Regions from separate parts of the Homo sapiens genome. Here all the other regions are linked to region 1. The links are contacts of gene promoters, found by promoter capture Hi-C in blood cells and fetal thymus (Javierre and others, 2016). All regions are on one chromosome and are shown on one strand. The core of a region is centred on a gene start or on the middle of the fragment in contact, and the rest is flanking DNA. Distances in the headings are between cores, read along the strand shown.

Region 1 (4,264 bases), core at 911-3,410:
TTTTTTGTTGGCCAAGGAAGCCTTTTTCAACCTTACCTCCCACAGCATCTCCTTCCCCCTAACTCCAGCCATATCGAATAACTTGGAGTCAAAGAAATACAAATTAAAAAATAATACAGTACCATTTCAAACTATTAAAAAAATTATAGACTGTGAAATGTAAATGGTGCCATTTTTCCTAGTGGACATTTTAATTTTTTTTGTTGTTGTTTGCAGAGGCAAGGTCTCACTATGTTGCCTAGGCTGGTCTTGAACTTCTGAGCTAAAGCAATCCTCCTGCCTCAGCCTCCCAAAGTTCTGGGATGACAGGTGTGAGCCACCACGCCTGGCTCCTGTGGGCATTTAAAATGAAAATTCTTTAAAAATGTGCATACTCTTTGATCCAGCAACTCCAATTTCACTTCTAGGACTATAACTTTAGGAAATAAGAAAAGACATACAGATATGTTCACAGCAACACTGGTTATAAAAGGAAGGAAAACAGGAAACAATTTAAATGTCCAATAATAGGCTATATTATGAAAAAGGTATACCATACAAAACCCAATCACTTTAAAGAATGACATACATTATTTAATGACACGTCATTAAAAACACATCAATGGTGTTATTTGGTAATGATGTGATACATCATTAAAAACACCACATAACCTAGCACTTTGGGAGGCCGAGGCAGGCAGATCACCTGAGGTCGGGAGTTCGAAACCAGCCTGACCAACACGGTGAAATCCCATCTCTACTAAAAATACAAAATTAGCTGGACGTGGTGGCGTGCGCCTGTAATCCCTGGTACTCGGGAGGCTGAGGCAGGAGAATTGCTTGAACCCGGGAGACGGAGGTTGCAGTGAGCCGAGATAGTGCCATTGCACTCCAGCCTGGGCAACAAAAGCAAAACTCCGTCTCGAACAAAAACACAAACAAACCAAACACCAGATATGTGGTGGGCACTAATCTCACAAGCCTTGAAAGTAGGTAGATTATCCAACTTTTACATGAAGAGGCTGAAACAAATTCAACTTGCCCAAGGTCATACAATTATTAAGTGGTGAAACCAGGATTCAAAAGGAGGCCATCTGCTGGGTGCAGTGGCCCATGCCTTTGTAATCTCAACATTTTGGGAGGCCAAGGCAGGAGAATCACTTGAACCCAAGAGTTTGAGAGCAGCCTGAGCAACATAGCGAAACCCTGTCAAAACAAAACAAAACAAAACAAAACAAGACTGGGGCGTGGTGGCGCGCCCTGTGGTCCTAGCTCCTCGGAACGCTCAGGTTGGAAGGAACGCTCAGGTGGGAAGATCGCTTGAGCCGGGGAAGTCGAGGCTGCAGTGAGCCGTGATAGCGCCACTGCACTACAGCCTCGGCAACGGAGTGAAACCCTGTCTCAAAAAACAAACCCAAAACAAACAACAACAAACGCAGGCTAACTGAATACCGAGCCCATGTCCCCTTCCATGCCCACAATGCTGCCTTGCCTTTGTGCAGAATGTGGTTAGAACTGTTTACCTCGCAAGGTTACTGTGCAAGTGAAATGAAATAAACACATGACACAGTGGACATTCAATACTCAGAAACTACTAAGTAACTCGCTCAAGGTCAAGCTAGGATTTAAACCCAGGATTTGAATCTTTTGTTCCAGGGAGCGCGTAGGAGGTTAAGAAGCTTTTCTTGGCTTCCTTTTTTTTTTTTTTGAGACAGAGTTTCGCTCTTGCTGCCCAGGCTGGCGTGCAATCGCTCGGTCTCAGTTCACTGCAACCTCCGGCTCCCGGATCCAAGCGATTCTCCTGCCTCAGCCTCCTAAGTAGCTGGGATTACAGGCGCCCGCCACTAAGCCCGGCTAATATTTTGTATTTTTAGTAGAGACGGGGTTTCACCATGTTAGCCAGGCTGGTCTCGAACTCCTGACTTCAGGTGATCCGCCCACCAATTCTTAACGCTGAGTCAGTATGGGCTTTCCTTCAGCCCCATAAAGTGCACCTCAGAGGTCAGGGAACACATAACAAGGACATTCAAAAGGGGAGCGCGCGGAAGTGGCTTTAGGAAGCACTAAGTCTTGCCTGGTTTTTTTTCCTCCCTGCTTTTCTAAATCCAAACCCGGACTCCTCAACCCACAGCACCACCAATTTCCAGGGCGGAAATGACGTCGTATTCACGCGCCGGAAGTGCATTTGCAGAGTGAGACAAAGCGGAGAACGCTGGTGGGCCTGTTGTGGAGTACGCTTTGGACTGAGAAGCATCGAGGCTATAGGACGCAGCTGTTGCCATGACGGCCCAGGGGGGCCTGGTGGCTAACCGAGGCCGGCGCTTCAAGTGGGCCATTGAGCTAAGCGGGCCTGGAGGAGGCAGCAGGTGAGGCACCTGGGCAAGCTGTACATCACTGTTCATCCCAGAACTGCACCAGAGTAATGAGACCTGAGCCCTCAGGCATAACTCTGAAAAAGATGGGTGGCACACAGACATCACCTGGGGAGGTAGCGGCTTTTCTGCCGTGGAAGTTTCTCTGCTCAAACAATGCTTACATCAGTCCTCCTGATAAGTCAAAGGACTGAGGAACATACGAGGGGGCTTGGTCTAATCTGAGTAGGTGCATCTGAAGATCTTTATTCCTATGATTGGTAGATCAGGAAATGTGGGATAAGAAGTATCGGAGGTTGCAGCTTTAGTTTCTTGGTTTGGTTTTTTAGGGGTCGAAGTGACCGGGGCAGTGGCCAGGGAGACTCGCTCTACCCAGTCGGTTACTTGGACAAGCAAGTGCCTGATACCAGCGTGCAAGAGACAGACCGGATCCTGGTGGAGAAGGTACAGAGGTATAGATGTTACCGTAGCCCATGGGCCAGTCCTGAGTTACACACTCATCCTCTTCTCCTAGGTGGAGTTAACGTAGATAGCTCTTATCCTGAAGATTTGGAAACTAAACTGCTTGAGGCTGGTATTTCGGTATTTTATATATCAGCTACAAAAGTGCTTAATAATTTGAAAAATAGAAGATGTTTGGAACATAAGGTATAAGAAAGTAGGTTGAAAACTATCTTTTGGTGGCAACATCTTCCAGTTGAAGTGATCCTTTTTCTACTCTGGTTCCCTTACACCACATATCCAACTGTCAGGATACTCTGTTGGCTTTACCTACTACTTTTTCCTGTGTTCACCTCTCATCCTAATCCAAGCCACCATCCTTCATCTAGATTTCTGCAGTAGCCCGGCTAATTTTTGTATTTTTAGTACAGACAGGGTATCACCATGTTTGCCAGGCTGGTCTTGAACTCCTGACCTCAGGTGATCCATCCGCCTTGGCCTTCCAAAGTGCTGGGATTGCAGGCATGAGCCACCGCGCTCGGCCCGGGGCTATTTATATTTCTAATTTCTCCTGTCATTTTGTTACATTTTTTCTAGAAACTTATCCATTTCCTAAAATTTCAAATGTATTGATATAAAGTTGTTCATAATATGATCACTTCCATATATGCAAGATCTGTGATGTTCATTTTTTCATTCCTGATATTGAATATTTTGTCTCCTCTCCTTTCTTCATCAGGCTCACCAGTATTGATTTTTTAAAAATTATTTTCATTTATTTTTACAGGTCACTGTACCCATCACCAGTATTGATTTTATTAATCTTTTCAAAAATACTTGGGTTTTTTTCTAGTTTCTTGAAATGGATGCTTAGTTTATTTTTAGACTGCCATTACTTTTTTTCTTTTCTTTTGAGACAGTCTTGCTGTTGTCGCCGAGGCTGGAATGCAATAGCACGACCTTGGCTCACTGCAACCTCTGCCTCCCAGGGTCAAGCAATTCTCCTGCCTCAGCCTCCCGAGTAGCTGGGATTATAGGCACCCACCACCACGTCCAGCTAATTTTTTTGTATTTTTAGTAGAGACGGGGTTTCACCACGTTGGCCAGGCTGGTCTGAAACTCCTGACCTCAGGTGATCCACCAAGCTCGGCCTCCCAAAGTGCTGGGATTACAGGTGTGAGGCACCGCGCCCGGCCACATTGCCATTACTTTTAATGGCAACAACCGCAGTTACTTTTGCAGCAACCTGGTAGTATGTATTTAAGGTTATAAATTTCTCAGAACTCTAGCTGTGTCCCACGAGTTTTAAAATGTGGTACTTTTGCTATCATATAAATCTATTTTCCATTATAATTTCTTCATGTATCATTGTTAATTCCCAAACATAAGAGATTTTCTAGTTACTATAAAATTATTTCTAGTTTAATATCATTGTAGTCAAAGAATATGTTTTGTACAATTTGCATTCTTTG
Region 2 (4,087 bases), core at 1,585-4,084, 270 kb after region 1:
TCAAATTCCACCATCGCCTGAACTCCATTCTTCCTGAAAATGATAATTCTCTGGACAGGGCCACAAGGATTACAGATAGTGTAAAGAACATCCGTGGTGATCGAATAAATGGGGTTCAGGATGGTAAAGAGAAGCACACTGTTCACGCTCCGGGAGTCATCCGAGTCCCCGGGGAGGGAGATCTTCTGGCTGGTAGAGTAGTTGACAAAAGCTGGGTGACCGGCAATGTATATTTGGTTGTCGGCTGCGTAGCTCACGGCGTTGCAAGCCCCCAACACATCTTCAAACTCCACCAGTGCTTGTCTCTTTTTAGGCATTACCACCGCATAGCTGATGGGTCCAAACTCCTGCAAGGCCTCCACAAGGTCAGCTTCCACCACATCGTCAATCAGGCCCCTGCTGTGGACAACTGGGGAGGCAGGGGTTTTGTGCAGGTCATGGTAGTTCTCCCCGCCGCCGCCCCCGCCGCCCCGCCTCCTCCACCGCCACCGCCGCCGCCGCCGCCTCCGTGCTGGTCGCCGGCGTTGCCAGTCTTGAGCCGCTTAGGGGCACCGCCGCCCTCACTGCCGCCGCCTTAGTAGCCGCCACCGCCGCCTCTGCCGCCCCCCGCCGCCATCTTCATCGCTCCCGACCGCCTCTGCTGCTCCTCCCGCTGCTGCCTCTGCTCCAGCCGCCGACGCCGCTTCTCCCAGGAAATTACTTTTCCAAGTTAGTTTGGTAAAGTTTAAAAGGTTGGTGCTTTATCCTGTAGACAATTGAGAGTAGTTTCTGTATTTAAGAAGGATAAATAAAATGTTCTGTGTGCAGGGCGGATTAGAAATGGAAGACATTGGAAGCAGAGAGAAGTTAAGGAAGAATGTTGACATTATCTTAAAGTGTTAAGAACCTGAACGAAACTCCTTGCAAAATCATTGCCAGGGAATACAGTGTAGGGCCATTGACTGACTCTAGTAGTGGATGAGGACAACTCACAGAGAGAAATCTGACAATCCATGTTTAGCAGAGGGAAGGAAGCCAGAAATAGTTACTAATAAGTGCAAGACTTCAGTTTTGTTGGTTTTTTGTTTTTTACTCCCAGCAAGCTAAATTTGACAATAATGTAGCTCAATTTCTCCCCATCTCATTTTGTTAATCTCTATAATCTTGCCCCAGAAAAGCCATTTGTACCCCAGCTCAGAAAATTCTGTATTCATTTGTCTTCATAAGATTGTAAAAATTTCAAAACTGTCTGTTCATGATAATTAGAGAAATACAAATCAAGACTACAATGAGATACCATCTTACACCAACCAGAATGGCTATTACTAAAAAGTCAAAAAATAACAGATGCTGGTGAAGTTGTGAAGAAAAAGGAATGCTTATACACTGTTAGTGGGAGTGTAAGTTAGTTCATCCATTGTGGAAGACAGTGTGGCAATTCCTCAAAAGCCTAAAGACAGAAATAGCATTGGACCCTGCAATCCCATTACTGGGTATATACTTAAAGGAATATAAATCATTCTGTTATAAAGACACATGCATGCATATGTACACTGCAGCACAATTCACAATAGCAAAGACATGGAACCAACCAAAATGGCAATCAGTGACACACTGGATCAAGAAAATGTGGTACATATATGCCATGGAATACTATGCAGCCATAAAAAAGAACAGAGACCATGTCTTTTGCAGGGACATGGATGGAGCTGGAGGCTATTATCCTTAGCAAACTAATATAGGAAGAGAAAAACACCACATGTTCTCACTTGTAAGTGGGAGCTAAATGATGAGAACTCACATGGACACACAGAGGGGAACGACACACACTGGGGACTTTCAGAGAGAGGAGGCAGAGAGATGGGAGATCATCAGGGAAAATAACTAATGGGTGCTAGGCTCAATACGTGGATGATGAAATAATCTGTACCACAAACCCCCATGACAAAAGTTTACCTATGTAACAAACCTGCACTTGTACCCCCGAACCTAAAATAAAAGTTTAAAAAGGAAGTGAAAAAAACTTTAAAGTAGCTCAATAAGTTTTATATTAATGTCAACTTTAAATAATTTTTATGCATAATACGTTATTAAAATTCATTTACCTTTTTAAAAAAAGAATGTGAAATTTTAGCAGAGTTTTCAACAACAATGTTGTAGTTAACAAGAGAAAAGCATCCCTGATGCTTTACAAACTGGTGTTTCAATGAATTAGTCTTTTTTTTCTGAGAGGGAATCTCGCTCTGTCGCCCAGGCTGGAGTGCAGTGGCATGATCTCGGCTCACTGCAACCTCCACCTCCCAGGTTCAAGTGATTCTCCTGCCTCAGCCTTCCAGTACCAGAAGGCGTGCACCATGACGCCTGGCTACATTTTGTATTTTTAGTAGAGACGGGGTTTCACCAGGTTGGCCAGGCTGGTCTCTAACTCCTGAGCTCCCAAACTGCTGGTAGTACAGGCATGAGCCACCGGACCTGGCCAAAATGAATTACTCTTAATTGTGTTCTATTCATTTGTTTTTCCTGCATTTTCATTTCATTTCACTTTGATGAACCAACCGAAATACCCGATGGAATACAGTGACAGCTTGAAAAGCTTCATGTTAACAAAGTTATCATTCCACAGTAGATAAAATAATATGTGAAAGTAGTGAGAACTTAGGAATTCCTCTAAAATCAGAATTTAAAGACATACCACTTACCCTTTGTTAAAATAGCTTACAGCACAGAAGTCTTAGAAAATGGGCATTAGAGTGTCAGAAAGCTAGTCATGTTAGAAAAAACCTTTCAAATCAAGGCTAGCCACCTCATTAAATAATAAAATGAAGAAACTAGTTATAAAACCGGTGTTCCATTTTCAATTTTAAAAAAATGCTGATGGTAAAATAACCATTAATTTAAAATATTTTTCTGCTCACTTCTAGAAGGTGGAGCATAAACCACTTAAGTGACCTATTTTAGCCCCACTAAAGCAAATGGCAAATATTGGGATTGGATTACCAAATGTATGCCTTCCATTTCATTGGCCATATATCTTATTGTTTCATGCATGGATAATGGCTTTTCTCCTTCTTCAGTAACCCAAAGGAAAAGCTGACATTCTAACCTGGAGCTGCACATTCAAGCTTTGACACATGCCTCTCACTGGTTTCGTCTAATGCTTATAATAAACCTGTAGAGTCAGCAACTTTAGAAAGATGGGTTGAAGAAGTGTCTTTATCATAGTTTGAATTTTTCTCTGGGGCACTTGGCAGAGTCACCTCTGGTGTTTCAAATGTGCTTGAAAGTTATCTGGCTGCCCTCTGAGAAGTCTGCATAAAAACTGCTTTACTTAAAAGCAGGCAAAATTAAGGTTTCTGTAACAAAACCATAGGCATCGCATTGAGATAGGACAAAGACCAAATATCCTGCTTCCATGTGGCAGAGAAATAATGAATAACTTGGTTCAAGAGCTCATGGAGTGGCATATCATCACACCATTATTAATAGAGAACATTGCTAATTTCTAAAAGGGCTTCATGTCATGATTATTTTATCCTCTTCTTTCTGTTAAATTTTTAACATGTATGTCCACTGCAAAGTACGCAAAGGAAATAAATTAGCACTAAAAAAAGGGCTTCTTCACAACCGCAAATTATATATATATTTCTTTCAGAACATCACTTTAGAGAGAAAATAGCAAAAATTCAGCATCATCACTTTTTGACAGTTCACTAGCCAATCAAAATATAGAAAAAGAAGGAGAAATTAAGTACATTTGTATTCACTGTACATTTTTAGCTATTTGTGTAGAAGAAAAACAATTAGCTTATTTAAAAACCCTAAGGTGAGTATGCAGTTTTTAATTATTATCTTTGCTGTTGTGATTTATATTTGTATTTTATTTATGTAAAAACCAGTAAATAAACCTATGTCAAATACTTCTTTATTTTTGATACTAGTTCAAAATATTGGTGACTTTTTTAGATATGAATATCTCATATGTATCTTTTAGAAATTATCAGAGAGTTATAAAATAATATTGGGGAGGTAAGGAAGGCACTAGACATAAGAAACTTGTATAGACAAATACTTTGTCACCAAAGTTGTATATTTAAAAGTCCCTATTCTT
Region 3 (4,330 bases), core at 1,570-4,069, 370 kb after region 1:
ATTTTATTTCTTTATTTATTCATTTTGAGATGGAGTCTCACTCTGTGGCTCAGGCCGAAGTGCAGTGGTGCGATCTTGGCTCACTGCACCTTCCTTCTCCTGGGTTCAAGTGATTCTCATGCCTCAGCCTCCTGAGTCATAGGCACATGCCACCACACCCGGCTAATTTTTGTATTTTTTTTCCTTTAGTAGAGATGGGGTTTCACCATATTGGTGAGATTGGTCTCGAACTCCTGACCTCAAGTGATCCACCTGCCACGGCCTCACAAAGTGCTGGGATTATAGGTGTGAGCTACCGTGCTTGACTATTTTTTGTCAGAAAGTATATAACCAACATTTTCCCCTTCAAAAACTCATTAAAGTAGTTGTGTTAAAAGTTCTGCTGAAGTCAATAATTAGCACATCTGTATATCAGTGATTAATGCCATCAAATCAAATGCTAGCTTTCCCACATTTTTCTCAAATATGATTTCTTACCAATGGCGGGGTGTGGGGTTAATATAAAGGTCCTAAAAGAGAATTTACAATCATAAATGTATTTAGATAATGTCTTCCCAGATGGACAAGTTGTAGTCTGTAGTGTGGATAAAATTTTTAGGAAGTACTTTAAAGCAGAGGCATATTAGAAACTATGAGACATATTAAATCAGAGACAGATTAGAAACTCTGTGAACAGAGGTGAGAAACATGTACTGCCATAAAAGAAAATGAGGTTTATTTAAGCCACTAAAAGTAAGGATATAAAATGGACAATCCTGATAGTTAAAAAGTTTAGTGTTCATCCACCGGGGCCTGTCGTGGGGTGAGGGGATGGGGGAGGGATAGCATTAGGAGAAATACCTAATGTAAATGACGAGTTAATAGGTGCAGCTAACCAACATGGCACATGTATACATATGTAACAAATCTGCACGTTGTGCACATGTACCCTAGAACTTAAAGTATATATAAAAAATAGTTTAGTGTTCATCTATTCAAAATATAGTATAATTTTATTTGAGATTGTCTTTTTTAAGTTTGAAGATTAAAAAAATTGGTATCAAAAGAATTATTTGAAAAATATTCTTCATCTGAGTAAAAAGTCCTGTGTCTCTGGGTAGATATTAATTTTATTCCAGTCGATTTAACAAGTTGTAAACTGGGGAGTGGGAGGAATAAAGCAGGAAAAAGTCATCCCACTTAAAATTACCTATTTGATTAGGATGTCAGAGAGTAGCTGATTCACTATGCTATGGTTATAGCCATATATGATTTTTAGTTTAATTTTTGAATTCAAAGGTTGGCAATAACCAGATCAGAAAATGTATCGTATGTTGCCGAACATTCGGAAGTTGCTTTCACCTCACACTGCTCTACCGAAACTTCTTTGTTTAATGTCACCAGTGACCTCTGCATTGCTAAGCCCAGTGGTGGTTACTTGAGTATCTTTTTATTTGGCCTAGCAGCAGCATTTGACACTTTTTATTTCTCCCTGTTGTTTGGTACATTTCTTCTCGTGGCTGCACGGATTCCACATTCTCTTGGTTGTGATTCTTTCTCACTGGTCATCTTTCCTAACCTCCATTGTTAATTTCTCCCCTTCTCTCCGCCATCTTTAATATTGGTACACCTGAGAGCCCAGGCTCTGGTTCCGTTCTCTTCTCTTAGAAACCCTTTGAAGCAGGCTTTCTAAACCATGGCTCTGCTGACATTTTGGGTCAGACAATTCTTTATATGTGGGGCTATCCTGTGCATTGTAGGATGTTCAGCAGCATCCCTGGTCTCTAATAGCCTCTACCTATTAGATGCCACTAGTAATTCATTCCCCAACTGTGACAACCAAAAATGTCTTCAGACATTGCCAGCTGTACCCTGGGGAGAAATAATTGCCTTCAGCTGAAAACCACTGACGTACTCTTTGCAATCTTGAGGATATCATTCAGACTTATGCCTTTAAATACATCAATATGATATTGATTAACATATTTATTTTATGAACCCAGTCTTTCACAAATTTCAGGCTTGTATATCCAACTGCTTACTTGGCATATTCAGCTCAATGTCTATAAATATCTGAAACTTCAGATGTTCAAAACAAAACTGATCTTCTCTCCTAAACCCTTGATCTCAGTCATTAACACATTTTTATGCTAATTCCAGCTTTCTGTTCCCCAGACTCAAAATCTTGTCTTCAATCTTGACTTTTCACCTTATCCACATTCCACATTAATCTGCATTCAGCCCATCTGCACAGATCTTCTAAATACATTCAAAATGCAGCCATCTTTCACCCGGGTGTGGTACACTATCATCTCCCTCTGGGATTTCTGAATCTTTTGCTGAGATTCCATCGTTAATTCCAACCGCTCTCCCTACTTCCACCCTTGCTTCTCTGCTCCTCCCCCTGCCCTGCATAATCTGTTCCTAACAAAGCGGAAATCTGTTTCAGGTCCATCACCCTCTGCTACAATGATTCAAAGTCATTTTCTTCCTGCCTGCCTGCCTGCCTGCCTGCCTGCCTTCCTTTCTTCCTTTCCTGACCGGAAATCTGTGTCAGGTCCATCACCCTCTACTACAATAATTCAAAGTCAGTTCCTTCCTTCCTTCCTTCTTTTCTTTCTTTTCTTTCTTTTTTCTTGACAGAGTCTCGCTTTGTCATCCAGGCTGGAGTGCAGTGGTATGATCTCGGCCCACCACAACCTCTGCCTCCTGGGTTCAAGCGATTCTTCTGCCTCAGCCTCCTGAGTAGCTGGGATTACAGGCGCCCGCCACCATGCCTGGCTAGTTTTTGTATTTTTAGTAGAGACAGGGTTTCACCATGTTGGTCAGGCTGGTCTCGAACTCCTGACCTTGTGATGCACCTGCCTTGGCCTCCCAGAGTGCTGGGATTACAGGCATGAACCACCCCAATCCTGGCCCCAAAGTTTTTGTATTTCTCAGAATGAACTTGAAAGCCTTAGGATGGCCTAATAAGTCCTGCAGTACTTAGTTCCCAGTGACCTCTCTGAGCTTCCCTCCTGCTCTCCCTTCCTTACTCGCTTTGCTTTTTTGCTACCTGTACATCTTTTTGAGAGTGCCTATTTGATTTTTTAATGAGGTTTTTATTGATTATTGAAAGGTTTTTATATACATTAAATATGTGTTTAAAAAACCATTTCTCTAGGTTTGTGGCTTGTCTTTTCACTTTGTGTATGTGTTGTGTTTTTCATATCGTGATTAAGAATTTTTACCATACCAATGATCATAAATATTTCTCCTATACCTTTTTTTTTTTAAATCTTTTTTTTGAGACCGAGTTTCGCTCTTGTTGCCCAGGCTGAAGTGCAGTGGCGCGATCTCGGCTCACCGCAATCTCTGCCTCCCGGGTTCAAGCGATTCTTCTGCCTCAGCCTTCCTGAGTAGCTGGGATTACAGGCATGTGCCACCACGCCCAGCTAATTTTATATTTTTAGTAGAGACAGAGTTTCTCCATGTTGGTTATTTCTCCTATATCTTATTCTGGAAATTTTTCTTCTTTAAACTATAATATTTATGTCAAAAATCCCTTTCAAATTATGTGTTATATACAATGCGAATTAAGGATTGAAGTTCATTTGCTTTTACATTTGATTATTTCATTGCTTGGGGGAGAATTGATCTCTTAATAATGTTGGGTCTTTTGTTTTATTTTTTCTTTTTTTTGAGACGGAGTCTCGCTCTGTCACCCAGGCTGGAGTGCAGTGGCGCGATCTCGGCTCACTGCAAACTCTGCCTCCCGGGTTCGCGCCATTCTCCTGCCTCAGCCTCCCGAGTAGCTGGGACTACAGGCACCCGCCGCCACGCCCGGCTAATTTTTCGTATTTTTAGTAGAGACAGGGTTTTGCCGTGTTAGGCAGGATGGTCTCGATCTCCTGACCTCGCGATCTGCCCACCTCGGCCTCCCAAAGTGCTGGGATTACAGGCGTGAGCCACCGTGCCCGGCCAATATTGGGTCTTTCAATCTATAAATGCTTCTCCATTTACTAGGGTTTTCATCATTCTTTCTTAGCAATGTTTTGAAGTTTTCAGTCCTCAGGTCTGGCACATCTTTTGTTACATTTATCCATAAGTGTTTCTCTTTTTTTTTTTTTGAGGCTATTGCAAATGGTACAATTACTTTTATTTCAATTTCCAATGTTCATTAGTAGTGTATAGAAATATGACTAATGTGTTTATGTTGATCCTACAAAATTGCTAAAGTTTCTAATTAGTTTTAATGTCTCCTTTTTAGATTCTATAGGATTTTCTATGTAGACAATCATATTGTCTGTAAATACAGTTTTGCATTTGCTGTCTACTCTGAATAGCATTTATTAATTTTTCTTGTTATTTT
Region 4 (4,236 bases), core at 1,352-3,851, 390 kb after region 1:
ATAAAATTTCTAAAATGAAGATAGTTTAAAAAGTGATTTTCAGACTGTGAAGTTGTAGCCCATTAGAGGGTGATGAAATCAATTTACATCTCATTTTAGAGAGAATGTTTATATTTTAATACAAAAAGAGGAATATATCACTCATAGTTAAGTATTATTTTTGTGAAATTTTCCATTTGATTTTATACACATACAGACATACACATGTCTGTACCTGGTCATATGTATGTATGTGTGTATGTATTGGTTTGTGATATAAATGTTATTTCTTACCATAAATTTCACTATTTAGAAAAAGTTACTCTCCACAATGCTGGCTGTCAGTGTTCCATACACAGGATGGTGTGTTTAAAAGGTGTGCATGTTACCCAGGCTTGGCCAATCAGAATCTTTCCTAAGATTGTTAAATTAAGTTTAATAATTGTTAGATTGTTAAATTAAGTTTTAAATTAATTGTTAAATTAAATTTCCTAAAATTGTTAAATTGTCTCTGGTAGACATTCTAGAAACATATGTAACAGAGACAGACACACACACACAAACACATACACACACACACACAGAGGGAGAGAGATGAGAAAAGATATGAGGTGATAAGGAAGAGAAATGCAGAAAAATAGAGATATGCATAAAGAAACACAGAGATAGAAAAATGCAGATAAATAGTGACAATAAATTAGAAAAATAGAAAGGCACTGCAGTGAAAGAGACACAACAGGGGGACAGAGACAGAAAATGCAGAGAGATATGCAGAAAGAACTATACAGGGGCAAAGATACACGGAGAAAAGGAGACAGATGCCCAGATAGAAATACAACAGAAACAGAAGAGAGATGAAGATCTTATTGAATATCTGGAACTAGTTGCTTCTGTAATCAACTTGACCTTAGGCTTCCTTGTACCATGAACAAAATATATTTGGTTTTCTATCATTTAGAACCAAAAATAGTACTTTTATTGCTGGTTATGCTTTCTTAACAATAAAAATTATTCTCAATTTTAAAAAAAGGTCACTCTTGTGAGGGCCTGTTAGTCTCTGATCAGGATGTTTGCTGCATGTTTTCCCCAGAAAGATGCAGTAGTACTGCTATAGGTATCATCTGTACTCACTCATGGATTTTGCTCCCCCGACGTCTTAGCACATCCTCTACAATTATGACATGGGTTTTTATCCCAGTGCTCACCAGCTTGCTATCATAACACATAATTTGGAAGAATTTCTTGACATCTTTTGCTTAAAGCTAATTTTTTTTTAAACTGATGCATGCTTTCTGCTACCAGTTGCTTTTAGCCATCAAAAGGAGGCTTGGCGAATTTAAAACAGAGAGAGAGAGAGATGAATTATTCTTTTTTATTTGCTCATTTCCCGACAATTCTTGCTAATTTTAATGGGTTTTGATGTGCAAAAATGATCTCCTGAGAACAGTTCAATCATTGCAGAGCACATTAAAATAACAAGGCATTATGCCGTCTTGAGTCCCTAAGAGAGGCAGGTTTGGCAGGGCAAAAGTGCAAGAAAGACCTGCACATTACAGTGAGATTTTACTGGAGATGTGTGCATGTGAACTTCACTCAGGCTCAGGCAGCTGAAGGGAAGGAGATGAAATCTCAGTACCAAACCTGGCAGGCCAGATTGACATGAGGGCCATCTGGTTCCTCTCACGAATGTCAGGTAGCAGAATGAGCAGACAGCGAAAGCTCATTGCTGAGATCTAGTTCATTGTGAACTGATTTAGAGCTGCGGGAAAATTTTGCTTCTCTGAACCACACGGCAGAACATAACCTTCACACATCTCCCTCTGCCTTTAGCAAACTGGGCAGGGGAGTGGGTGCCTTGAAAACAATGACAGGACGGAAAGAGGAAGCGGTGTGGTTGACGTTTTACTTTTAAACACATTTTTAAAGAGTATAGCTTTACAAACCCCTCCACTGCCAACCCTCAAGTTCCACCTTCCACTCCTCTGTAAAACTGAGCTGGAAATAATTAAATCTAAAGCTAAAAATGAGAGGTGGGGAGACATGTTGTGTGTAAAAATATGGCTAAAGAAGCTTCGCTATTTCTTTGAATCCCTTGATACTTCTTTTATGCATATACTTACGAGTTGTTGGAGAGGAAAATATAATATAATATTTTATCTTCTAAATTAAAGAGTGTATTTTGCTGCCATTAAGATACCATGGGCTTTGCTTTATTGGATCATTAATTTGACTTTGAATGGTCAAAGGCTTATTCAGTAAGCATGTATCTTGCAACACACAAGAGGTATATATTAATGAAAGACTAAAACACACCCAGGAGTCTCTTACTGCCTTATTAAAACATTTATAAATGGGACTTTAAAGTGCTGCTAAAATGAAAATGAAATGTATTGATTCTCATGCCAGATGCTCTTTAGAAAATGCAGTGTGTGTTATTCCCACCTCAAATTATAACTTCAAATCTGACCTAGATATACTTAAAGATAATTCTCTGAAGACAAGATGTAGCAGATAAGGCAATTAAACCAAGTCATTCAGATTTCTAGGATGGCCTTTGTACACTAGGTGGCAGAGGCTTCTAAGAATATCTCTCTTATATAAAGTACCAGAGGTTTGTTTAGCTTTGCAAGCTCAAGCAAAACATTCATGAAAATGTTCTTCTTCAGCAGTGGACTAAGATTCTCCTTTTTACAAATAAGTGGAAAAATTTAAACAGCATGTTTTGTTCTGTGTGAACCTTCAACAATGCAATACTTTTTTTTTTTAAATTTTTTGGAGACCAAGTCTTGTCTCTGTCACCCAGACTGGAGTGCAGTGGTGTGATCTCAGCTCACTGCAACCTCCACCTCCTGGATTCAAGCAATTCTTGTGCCTCAGCTTCCCGAGTGGCTGGGACTACAGGCGCCCGCCACCACGCCCGGCTAATTTTTTGTGTTTTAGTAGAGACTGGGTTTCACCATGTTGCCCAGGCTGGTCTCGAACTCCTGAGCTCAGACAATCCACCCGCTTCGGCCTCCCAAAGTGGTAGGATTACAGTCATGAGCCACCACACCTGGCCAAATGCAGTATATTTTTTGTTTAGTGAATTTATTTTTTCATAGAATAGCAGAATAGGGTTTTGATAGTGTTAATTTTTAATTTAATTCAACTTTACTTTGGTTTAATTCATTTTTAAAAGCTTTTTTACTTTAACACAATAAAAAAATTCTTAAATGGCATGATTCAAATGAATGCATGGCGGGGGGGTGATGCCTCACATTCTTACAACACCTCTTTATTTTCGAAAGACCTTTCACATGCATTTTTAAATTTGATCCTTAAAATAACACTGTACTGTATTAGCACAATTTTACAGGACAGGAAATAAATTTCAGACAAGGTGAGTAACTTCTCCAACATTAAGTAATAAAGTGCTACTGTGTTTTTCCTTTCTGTTGGAGCACAAGAACATTCAATAGAATTTTCACTGAAGACGAGCTGTAAGTATATTAGTGGGAGTGGGAAGTGGAAGTGTCATCTATTTTTTAAAAGGTGGCAGATCTACAATATTTAGCAAGAAACAGGGAGAAGGAAAAGCCAAAACAAATGAACTGATTTATTTAAAAACATTATCAGCATTACCCTGAAAATTATCAAAATCTTATATGCTATATCAATATATTTTTGGAACCATTTTATGGAAGTATCCTTAATAGAGTTTTAATGCATTTAATGCATGCTGTTTTTTTCAGGTGTCCAAAGAGAAGTGCGCCTTTTGCAATAGATCGATATTTCTCTAAGCCTGTTTCCCACACCAACTAATATCAGATTCACTACAGTTTCTTAAGAATAGACTTCTAGCTCCTACTCCCAACCAAATTAATCACAGTTTTTGGGAACTAACCCAGGTATCTTCATTTTCAACCAGCATCTAAGACTTGGCTAGTAAGTTGTGAGAATCAACAGATTTTACTTTTTTTGATATGATATAGATGCAGGCAGAAATATCTAAATAGGTTTATAATCACGCCAAATCTTTTTTTTTCAATTATCATAAATTACCACAAAAATTTTGTTCCATGTGAAAAGATTACCTAATGAATGAATAAGTAACTTGGAACTTTAAATAAAGAAAATGGACAGACACTCATTCACACACGTACATAGAGGAGGCACATTGCAGTAAAAGAATTTCTTTTCTAGATTAATGGTTGTAAATGACCCCAATCAAATATTAGTTAATAAGGCAACAACGTCCTTTGAAAAATAATTTGAGAA

The links. Contacts are between HindIII fragments. The CHiCAGO score rates a contact against its expected background, and 5 or more counts as called.
Region 2: a fragment that was not itself captured here is called in contact with the fragment with the promoter of EMC4 in region 1 in 1 of 17 cell types (total CD4 T cells); the score reaches 5.0 in total CD4 T cells.
Region 3: a contact is called between a fragment that was not itself captured here and the fragment with the promoter of EMC4 in region 1, in 7 of 17 cell types (non-activated CD4 T cells, naive CD8 T cells, fetal thymus and 4 more). The highest score is 10.2, in non-activated CD4 T cells.
Region 4: a contact is called between a fragment that was not itself captured here and the fragment with the promoter of EMC4 in region 1, in 1 of 17 cell types (total CD8 T cells). The highest score is 5.6, in total CD8 T cells.

Annotation. Positions count from the first base shown.
Region 1 is chr15:34,222,856-34,227,119 of GRCh38, forward strand. EMC4 (ER membrane protein complex subunit 4) reads left to right here and starts at 2,161. Exons shown (of 5, transcript NM_016454.4): 1 at 2,161-2,345; 2 at 2,681-2,795. The coding sequence starts at 2,260. RefSeq lists an enhancer at 2,475-2,524. The HindIII fragment of the contact is 12,421 bases long and covers 1,657-4,264 here.
Region 2 is chr15:34,490,052-34,494,138 of GRCh38, forward strand. It overlaps the pseudogene HNRNPLP2. Among named protein-coding and RNA genes, the nearest start is that of MIR1233-2, 36 kb to the right of the region's middle. RefSeq lists an enhancer at 435-936. The HindIII fragment of the contact is 529 bases long and covers 2,571-3,099 here.
Region 3 is chr15:34,589,163-34,593,492 of GRCh38, forward strand. No RefSeq gene overlaps it. Among named protein-coding and RNA genes, the nearest start is that of GOLGA8B, 7.7 kb to the left of the region's middle. The HindIII fragment of the contact is 8,309 bases long and covers 1-4,330 here.
Region 4 is chr15:34,608,097-34,612,332 of GRCh38, forward strand. No RefSeq gene overlaps it. Among named protein-coding and RNA genes, the nearest start is that of GOLGA8B, 27 kb to the left of the region's middle. The HindIII fragment of the contact is 1,108 bases long and covers 2,048-3,155 here.